Linked DNA regions of Homo sapiens: region 2 is linked to region 1. Evidence: promoter capture Hi-C in human tissues and cell types (Jung and others, 2019). All regions are on one chromosome and are shown on one strand. Each heading gives the region's core, a stretch centred on a gene start or on the middle of the fragment in contact. The rest is flanking DNA. Distances are from core to core; before and after follow the strand shown. Region 1 holds the start of UCMA (upper zone of growth plate and cartilage matrix associated). Region 2 overlaps MCM10 (minichromosome maintenance 10 replication initiation factor).

Region 1 (4,933 bases), core at 1,306-3,805:
CAGATGCCTGTCTCCTGGTTCCAAATTCAAGTTGGCTGAAGTGTCTGTCACCTGCCCTTTATCCAACCTGAGGCATCGCTGGGCACTGCCCTCCTGCTATCCACAGGAGTTGACTGGGTGACAGCAGATGCATTCATGCACAATCCTGGGTGTTCACCAGGCTGTCCTGCACCTCCCATGACTAATTGACACACTGAGCTTCTGTCCGAGGTAAGGCACTTCAGGCTAAATGGTGTAGCTCATTGTTTGGAGTCAGCTTAAGAGGACAGAAGAGGCCATGCGCGGTGGCTCATGCCTGTAATCTCAGCACTCTAAGAGGCCGAGGCAGGGGGGTCACCTGAGTTCAGGAGTTCGAAACCAGCCTGGCCATCATGGCAAAATTCTGTCTCTACAAAAATACAAAAATTAGCAGGCGTGGTGGCAGGCATCTGTAATTCCAGCTACTTGGGAGGCTGAAGCAGGAGTATTACCTGAACCTGGGAGGTGGAGGTTGCAATGAGCCAAGATCCTGCCACTGCACTCCAGCCTGGGCGACAGAGTGAGACTCCATCTCAAAAAAAAAAAAAAAAAAAAAAAAGAGGACAGAAGCTATTTGCCTGGCCTAAAATCATGCCTGTTTCCCCTGGAAGTCTGCCAGAAGATTGCTTCTCCCATTTTAATCAAAAACAGTCCAGCCCCCCTCCCAACCTTTCAGTGCTTCTTGACATTGGCCAACTTTTAAATCTCCAGTTGTATGAGGCCTGGAGGTTTTCCTAGCACGGTTATACTTATTCAATTTTTTTTAAAAAAAGAAATTTCATCTCCAAGCATTTCTATCTCTGTTCTTCCCATCATTTGAAAACAGTCCTGTTATTTTTACCAAGCAAGTCACCTTGCTGAGTGCCCTGAAGAATACAAAGAGTTCATTCACCCACAGGCACGAGGAGGAAAGACTCAAGCCAGAGACTCGGGAGATACTGTCTGAGCTCAGCATCTTGGAAGAAGCAGGTTCAGGAGTAGAAACTCAAATGCCCTCAGGGGTTGGCAGGTGAAGGGCATGAGGACCCTGAAGCCGGGGCTCCACAGGCCCTACAGCAGGCTGTGCAACAGACAGGCTCACCCCAATGTGTTGAAAATGAAAACTTAAAAAAAAAAAAACCTCTGCTGGCTGAACACAGCTCTTTCAGAGGCTTATAAATAAGGAAATTAGGACCAGAGGGAGGAAGTAGCCAAGGCCACTTAGCAGCACAGCTGTCCCCAGACCCACATTTCTCAGCACCCAGTGTCCTGTGCCTTCCCCATGTGCGATGCTGTTGCTCTTATACAGAAGGTGTGCTGGACCAGTACCCGCAAAGCACACACTGATGTGTGGGTCGCCTCCAGACCAGAATATAGATTTCCCTCCCTACACCTTTCTGAAATCCAATGCATCTTATCCCTGTTAGGTGTGTTTAATGTAGCATCATGGCCAAGAAGCAGGACAAGAGGACCTGTCTCCAAGTCATCTTTGCAGAGGTGGGGCCTCCTAACCCTGACAAAGTATTCAATCCAATATACGACCTACAGTCAGGAAATAGGGTGTAATTTCTCATTCAGAGCTGCAGTCCCTTTGATACCCTGGGGTGAGCCCTTCGTGCCCAGCTGCATCCTGCTGCCCGGCTGACTGTGGGAGAGGAGGAGCCGGGGGGTGTGAGCAGAGGTGGTGATGGACGCGGGATGGGGTCCCTCCAGCATCCTTACCATTGACCTCATCTCTGGACTTGGGGGACCGCTTGCCGCGCCTCTTGAGGAAATTCGAGGCATCTGATTCCTGCATGAAAATCTTCTGTTTTGCATCTGAAACCCGGGAGAGGCCTGTCACCAGCAGTGTGGGGGTGCTGGGGCTGCTGCTTCGCTGGCTGCACCTGCCCTGCCCCGTGGGTGGCCCCTGCACTCACCTTCACTCGCCTCTTCTCCCGCCATCTGCATGGTGCCCACAGATACACTGGTTCCCTCTCTCAGCACTGCAGGACAAGGGCACAGAGTGAGGCTGCAGCATCAGAGGGGAGCCCAGACCCTGAGCTGAGTCCCCATCTCTCTTTCCAGGCTAAGCGTCCTGCCAGGGCCTGGCAGGGGGCCCGTGGTTTCTCACGTACCAGCTGCAGAGCCAATCTCCCCAGGAACCCACCAAGCAAGCTGGCTTGGGTTTTTTTTCTATTTTGTTTCTTTCTTTACTGTTTTTTATTATTATTATTATTTTTCTGTATTGCATTGTGTCCTACATGCACACGACACACACATACACACATGTTAACAATAAGCATACTCCTTTCTACCTGCATCACCTGAGCAGCCTTACCTGTGCATGGTAAGTCTCCCTTACCATGTAACTAACACCCTCCACCTTGACCCTCCTGTACTCACTAGACAGGAGCACCACGGCGGAGAAGCAAGACAGCAGGACGGCCTGTCTCCAAGTCATCTTTGCAGAGGTAGGGGCTCCGTCCAGGACCCACAAGGCAGACCAGGCGTCCTGCACCCTTTGGGTCCCCACTTCTGAGGCAGGCAGCCCAGGCGAGAGGAAGGAAGGCGGGGGAGGGAAGAGAGAGGCAGGAGGCTGGGATACCACTGGGGGAGAGGAGGAGGGGGCTGGGCTGCCCTTTCCATTGGCTGCTCCTAGATGGAGCAACGGAGATGTTTTTGGCACCTGGCAAATGTCTCCAGAAGCAGAGCTTGTAGTTAGGGCCCTGGGTGGGACGGTCTTGGAGTGGCCTTTCCAATGTCCGTGTCTGGGGATCTGCTGCTGGGAAGGCTCATCCTAACAGTCAGGGTTCCAGTGACCAAGGCCTGTGTCAAGGAGGTCCTGGCACCTGCTCCAGGGACGTTAGGGCCCCGGTCCTCAGGGTTGAAGCATGGGTGGGGGCAAGGAGGAAGAGAGGATCAATGGGGGAGTTTTGATCTAAATGTCAGTCAAGAAGGGCTCATAATGACTGGAATACCCATCAGGGTGACACACAGACGTGTGGGTCATGCTGACAGCGACCAGAGAACACCTTACCTGATGCACTGCTTCCAGCTGATGCTCACTGCCAAGCCAAACACAAACTCCTGGGGCCGCGGGTCCCAGAGCCCTTTAAAGTCAATTGCCTTCCCGCGGTGGCTCATGCCTGGAACCCCTGCACTTTGGGAGGCCGAGGCAGGCAGATCACCTGAGGTTAGGAGTTCGAGACCAGCCTGGCCAACACGGTGAAACCCTGTCTCTATTAAAAATAAAAATAAACAAATTAGCCGGGCATGGTGGCGGGCGTCTGTAATCCCAGCTACTCAGGAGGCTGAGGCAGGAGAATCACTTGAACCCGGGAGGCAGAGGTTGCAGTGAGCCGAGACCGCGCCACTATACTCCAGCTGGGGTGACAGAGCAAGACTCAGTCCCAAAAAAAAAATACATATAAAATAAAATAAAATAAAAATTTAAAAGTTAAAAACAGCGGCCGGGCACGGTGGCTCACGCTTGTAATCCCAGCACTTTGGGAGGCAGAGGTGGGCGGATCATGAGGTCAGGAGATCGAGACCACGGTGAAATCTCGTCTCTACTAAAAATACAAAAAAAATTAGCCGGGCGTGGTGGCGGGCACCTGTAGTCCCAGCTACTCAGAGAGGCTGAGGCAGGAGAATGGCGTGAACCCGGGAGGCAGATCTTGCAGTGAGCCGAGATTGCACCACTGCACTACAGCCTGGGTAACAGAGCGAGACTCCATCTCAAAAAAAAAAAAAAAAAAAAAATTTAAAAACAGCAAGGCCAAATTCAATCACCTTCCACAGCGGAGGGGGAGAAGGGCAGGTATCTGAAAAGCTCCACAGCTAATCCTGCATCTCTAGGAAGACACACATCATACTCCATGTAGGGGAGGAAATGGGTTCCCAGAAATGGGACCACTAATGAAATCAGCACCAACATGGCCATTAGAGCTCAGTCCCCTTGGAGATGTGTTCCTAATGTTGCCTTTGTTAGGAACCATCAACTCTTTGCTGTCAGCCTTCTGGCATCGTTTAATGTTTGTCTAATGGGAACCATCACTAGACCTAGAACCCAGCCCATACCTACCTGAAGCTCCCCTCTTACAAGACTTTTATGTTAGCTAGGCAAAGTGGCTCAAGCCTGAAATCCCAGCCCTTTGGGAGGCCGAGGCAGGAGGCTCACTTGAGGCCAGGGGTTGGAGATAAGCCTGGGCAACATAGCGAGACCCCCATGTCTATTTAAAAAAAGAAAGACTTTCAGTCGGGCGCAGTGGCTCATGCCTGTAATCTCAGCACTTTGGGAGGCTGAGGTAGGTGGATCAGTTGAGGCCAGGAGTTCTAGACCAGCTTGGCCAATATGGCAAAACCCCATCTCTACTAAAAATACAAAAATTACCCAGGCGTGGTGGCATGAACCTGTAATCCCAGTTACTCAAGAGGCTGAGGCAGGAGAATCGCTTGGACCCAGGAGGCAGAGGTTGCAGTGAGCCGAGATTGCGCAACTGCACTCCGGCCTGGGTGACAGAGCGAGACTTTGTCTCAAAAAAATAAAAAAAGGCCGGGTGCAGTGGCTCATGCCTGTAATCCCAGCAGTTTGGGAGGCCAAAGTAGGTGGATCACCTGAGGTCAGGAGTTTAAGACCAGCCTGGCCAACATGGTGAAACCTTGTCTCTACTGAAAATACAACAATTAGCTGGGCGTGGTGGTGGGCACCAGTAATCCCAGCTATTCAGGAGGCTGAAACATGAGAATTGCTTGAACCCGGGAGGTGGAGGTTGCGGTGAGCTGAGATCGCACCATTGCACTCCAGCCTGGTCAACAAGAGCGAAACTCCATCTAAAAAAAAAAAAAAGAAAGAAAAGAAAAGAAAGACTTTCATGTTTACATCCCTCATGGACTTTACCGTCGTCCAGGAAAAGAATGTTAAGGCAGAAAAATAACTGAGACAGAGTAAACA
Region 2 (4,933 bases), core at 1,015-3,514, 58 kb before region 1:
TCATCATGATGGGCCAGGCTGATCTTGAACTCTTGACCTGAAGTGATCTGCCCACTTCAGCCACCCAAAGTGCTGGGATTACAGATTCTTAAAGTAGAATTTGAACTGTACATAAATCTCCACTAATTACTCATTCTGAAGGAGGTCTTGTCCTCCCTTTGATAATCTGCGCCAGTGCTCTGTATCTTGATGAATATTCAGTAAACATCATTGCATAGAGAATCAGTATTATAGAGTGGAACTATCTAGTACAGTAGCCACTAGCCACCTGTGGATATTTAAGTTAAAATTAGATTAAATTTAGTTAGAAATGTATTTCCTTAAAAGCACAGGGTCACATTTAAGTGACTGATGGTCACATGTGTCTGGTAGCTAGCACCCTATTGGACAGCACCAATGTACAACATTATTATCATCAGAGAAAGTTCTATTGGACTGTAAGTCCAAGAAATGGTCTTGTGGGGCATGCTTTGTTCCCAAGATTTGATTATTGCATGTGTTGCTTTAAAAAAGGGACAATCCTGGCCGGGGGCGGTGGTTCATGCCTGTAATCCCAGCACTTTAGGAGGCTGAGGCAGGCGGATCACCTGAGGTCGGGAGTTCGAGACCAGCCTGACCAACATGGAGAAACCCCATCCCTACTAAAAATACAAAATTAGCCGGACGTGGTGGCGCATGCCTGTAATCCCAGCTACTTGGGAGGCTGAGGCAGGAGAATTGCTTGAACCCTGGAGGCGGAGGTTGTGGTGAGCTGAGATCGCACCACTGCACTCTGGGCAACAAGAGTGAAACTCCATCTCAAAAAAAAAAAGGAACAGTTCGGACTGTGTGCGTGTGCAATGTCTCACGCCTGTAATCCCAGCACTTTGGGAGGCCTAGGTGGGTGGATTGCTTGGGCTCAGGGGTTTGAGACCAGCCTGGGCAACATGGCAAAACCCGTCTCTACAAAAAATACAAAAATTAGCCGAGCATGGTGGCACATACCTGTGTTCCCAGCTACTCAGAAATCGCTTAAACCCAGGAGATGGAGGTTGCAGTGATCCCAGATCACGCCACCATTGCACTCCTGCCTGGGTGACACAGTGAGTCCCTATCTCAAAGGAACAAATCCGTAAAAACAAATTTCCAAATTCCGTTCGTGATTATCAGTGTGGTTGCCTTTTCATTAATTGTGTTAATTTTCTAGATCCCAAAAGCTCATCTTCAAGGATGACAAGTGCACCCTCCCAACCCCTACAGACGATTTCTCGGAACAAACCTAGTGGGATAACTAGAGGTCAAATTGTGGGGACCCCAGGAAGTTCTGGGGAAACGACTCAACCCATCTGTGTGGAAGCCTTCTCTGGTCTGCGGCTCAGGTCAGTAGCTAAACCATCTATTCATGTGCGCCACGGCATAGCTTTTTGTGCCTCTCGGAGTCCTTTAGAAGTAGTGTGTTTATACATCAGGATCCACAAAACACCAGCAGCTCTTGAACTGGACAAAACACCACTGGAAGACTAGCAGTAGCCCTAGGTTTGACTAAGTACAGTTGCATATAAAATGTTTAAGAAAGACTTTTTCTTGTGTATGTAATCAACAAAGAATCTGTATCTATAAAAAGAAATGGACAAATGATAGTATATTTAATCAGAAATTGACAGATGGAAATAGTAGATTTTTAAAATTTTTCTCCATCTCTATTGAGGTATAATTTAGACTTTTTAAATACACAGACAGTTTAACCAGGATAATATTTATGCAATTAAGCAATTACTGGATTGCTTTGGCTCTTCTGGGTCTTTTGCGGTTCTGTATAAATTTTAGGATCATTTTTTCTATTTCTATTGATTCTTGTAGTTGATGTTAAGAAAAATAGCTATGCTGTTTTTCTTTCTAATAGTCTTTTTAAGGCAAATTTATATTCTTTGCATCTGTTATAGGGATACATTTAAGATAGCCTGTTATAATAGGAATATATTCCAAGCTCAATCCAATTAAAAGCTATATTCAAATCTTGGACTTTTTTCTAACTTTATTTTAATTTTTTTAATTATCTATACTCTGTATCACTACTCCATTGCATCTCCATCATTACATCTGGATAATCCCAGGGCAGAACAGTACTCCTTACTGTGAGACTGGATTGCTTTTAGCACAGTCCATTTGAGGAACCAAGTGAAACCCTCTAAAACTCTGAAACCTTGTCAGTGTAAATATCAGCCAACAACTAAAACTGCTAAGCTCTTAAAGTATATATTATTAGCAGAGGAGAACAAGTGTTGCCAACATACAATAAAAGTGTATTATAAGGCTGGGCGTGGTAGCTCACACCTGCTATCCCAACACTTTGGGAGGCCAAGGCAGGAGGATTGCTTGAAGTCAGGAGCTCGAGACTAGCTGGGGTAACATAGTGAGACCTCATCTCTACAAAAAGTAAATTAGCTGGACACAGTGGTGTGCACCTGTAGTCCTAGCTACCTGGGGGTGCTGAGGCAGGAAGTTCGCTTGAGCCCAGGAGTTCAAGACTGCAGTGAGCTATGATCATACCACTGCACTCCAGCCTGGGCAACAGAACAAGACCTTGTTTCCACAAACAAGAAGTGTCTTGTAAAGAGTTGGTATTCTCCAAAACTGAAGAATGTATTTATATCTTAATTACATCTGAGACAGACTCTAAGAAACAGAATACAGCAGTAGAAGCTGTGGTTCTCATTGAGGGGGCTGCAGGCTTCCTTCTCAAGGTAGAGAATTGCCCCCACCTGAGATGCTACTGCCTGCCCCAGCCATGGCCCACTTGAAGCTCCCTATGGGTAATGAACCATGTTGCTGCTGGTGGGCATTTATTGCACATGTGAATCAGAATTGAGATAGAAGAGACTTAAACTACTCAGCAAAAGCTTCTGAGTGGCTTTTAAATTTAAGGGATCACAGAATTGTTTGGGTCTCTTTGTCATTGTTAAATGTGAACCTCAGGCCTTAAAAATACTCTAAAGGACATATTAATAGAAATTCCCCGACACAGGTCGAGGGTCCCTTATCCAAAATGCTTGGGACCAGAACTGTTTTGGATTTTGGATTCTGGAATATTTACATTTAATAGACTTGCTAGTTAAGCATCCCAAATCTGAAAATCCCAAATCTGAAATGCTGCAGTATTTCCTTTGAGTGTCATGTTTGTGCTCAAAAGTTTTAGATTTTGGAGCTTTTTTTTTTTTTTTTTTTTTTTAATCTATTAACTCATTGTTACAGAAAAAACCCTGGGCTGTATAGAAGAACCTTTCCCTAGCTGGGCATGGTGGCTTACACCTGTAATCCCAGCACTTAGGGAGGCTGAGGGTGGCAGATTGCTTGAGCTCAGGAGTTTGAGACCAGCCTGGGCAACAGGACAAAACCCCATCTCTACAGAAACAAAATTTAGCCCGGTGTGGTGACATGCGCCTCTAGTTCCAGCTGCTTGGTAGGCTGAGTGGGGAAGTCAAGGCTGCAGCGGGCCAAGATTGTGCCACTGCGCTCCATCCTGGACAACAGAGCAAGACCCTATCTCAAAAAAAAAAAAAAGTTTCCTCAGAACTGAGAAGGATCCAAAAGCCAAAGAATGACTCGGACTTATATGTAAGGCACCCCTGGATGGCAGCAAGATTGTTTGGGAGATCTGCTTATTTGTCTATTTTTGCTTTGGTTACCTGTGCTTTCGTGTTACTACTCAACAAATCTTAGCCAAGACCAATGTCCTAGAGAGTTTCCCCAATGTTTTCTTTTAGTAATCTCATAGCTTTGGGTCTTAGATTTAAGTCTTTAATCTTTTTTTTGAGACAGTCTTGCTCTGTTCCCTGGCTGTAGTACAGTATCGTGATCTCAGCTCACTGCAACCTCTGCCTCCCGAGTTCAAGTGATTCTCTTGCCTCTCAGCCTCCCGAGTAGCTCAGACTACAAGCACGCACCACAGTGCCTGGCTAATTTTTGTATTTTTAGTAGAAACCGCCATGCTGGCCAGGCTGGTCTCAAACTCCTGACCTCAGGTGATCCACCTGCCTCGGCCTCCCAAAGTGCTGGGATTACAGGCGTGAGCCACGGTGCCCAGCCTCTTGAATACATTTTGAGTTGATTTTTGTATATGGCGAGAGATAGGGATCTAGTTTCATTCTCCTGCATATGGATATCCAGTTTTCCCTGCACCATTTGTTGAAGAGACTGTCCTTTCCCCAATGTATGTTCTTTGCACCTTTGTTGAAAATGAGTTCATTGCAGATTTATGGATTCGTTTCTGGTTTCTCTATGCCAGTACCATGCTGTTTTGGTTACTATAGCTTTCGTATAATTTGAAGTCAGGTAATCTGATTCCTCCAGTTTTGTTCTTTTTGCTCGGGATTGCTTTGGCTATTTTGGGTCTTTTGTGATTCCATATACCTTTAGGGTTGTTTTTTCTGTTTCTGTGAAGACTGTCATTGGTACTTTGATGGAGATTGCATTGACGCTCTAGATTGCTTTGGATTGTATGGACAGTTGAACAACATTGATTCTTTAAATCCATCAACATAGGCTATTTTTCCATATTTGGTATCCTCTTTAATTTCTTGCATCAATGTCTTTTAGTTTTTATTGTAGAGATCTTTCACTTCTTTGGTTAAGTGTATTCCTAGGTGTTTTATTTGGAGCAGTTGTAAATGGGATTACTTTCTTGATTTCTTTTTCAGATTGTTCGTTGTTGGCATCTAGAAATGCTACTGATTTTTGAATATTGATTTTGTATCCTGCAACTTTATTGAATTTATTTATCAGTGCTAATAGTTTTTTGGTGGAGTCTTCAGGTTTTTCCAAATATAAGATCATTATCATCTGCAAACAGGGATAATTTGACTTTTTCTTTTCCAATTTGGATGCCCTTTATTTCTTTCTCATCTGATTGCTCTAGCTAGGACTCCCCTAAGCTGTTTGCCTACTGTGTATGTGT

The links. The method cuts DNA at HindIII sites, captures the fragments that hold promoters and counts their contacts. A contact is called where the count stands out against the background at its distance.
Region 2: a contact is called between a fragment that was not itself captured here and the fragment with the promoter of UCMA in region 1, in 1 of the 25 tissues and cell types used here (mesenchymal stem cells).

What each region holds. Positions count from the first base shown.
Region 1 is chr10:13,231,819-13,236,751 of GRCh38, forward strand. It overlaps UCMA (upper zone of growth plate and cartilage matrix associated), which reads right to left and starts at 2,556. Exons shown (of 5, transcript NM_145314.3): 1 at 2,383-2,556; 2 at 1,917-1,982; 3 at 1,720-1,815. The coding sequence starts at 2,440. RefSeq lists an enhancer at 2,259-3,169. The HindIII fragment of the contact is 17,086 bases long and covers 1-4,933 here.
Region 2 is chr10:13,174,324-13,179,256 of GRCh38, forward strand. It overlaps MCM10 (minichromosome maintenance 10 replication initiation factor), which reads left to right. Exons shown (of 20, transcript NM_018518.5): 6 at 1,187-1,358. Among named protein-coding and RNA genes, the nearest start is that of MCM10, 15 kb to the left of the region's middle. The HindIII fragment of the contact is 4,349 bases long and covers 91-4,439 here.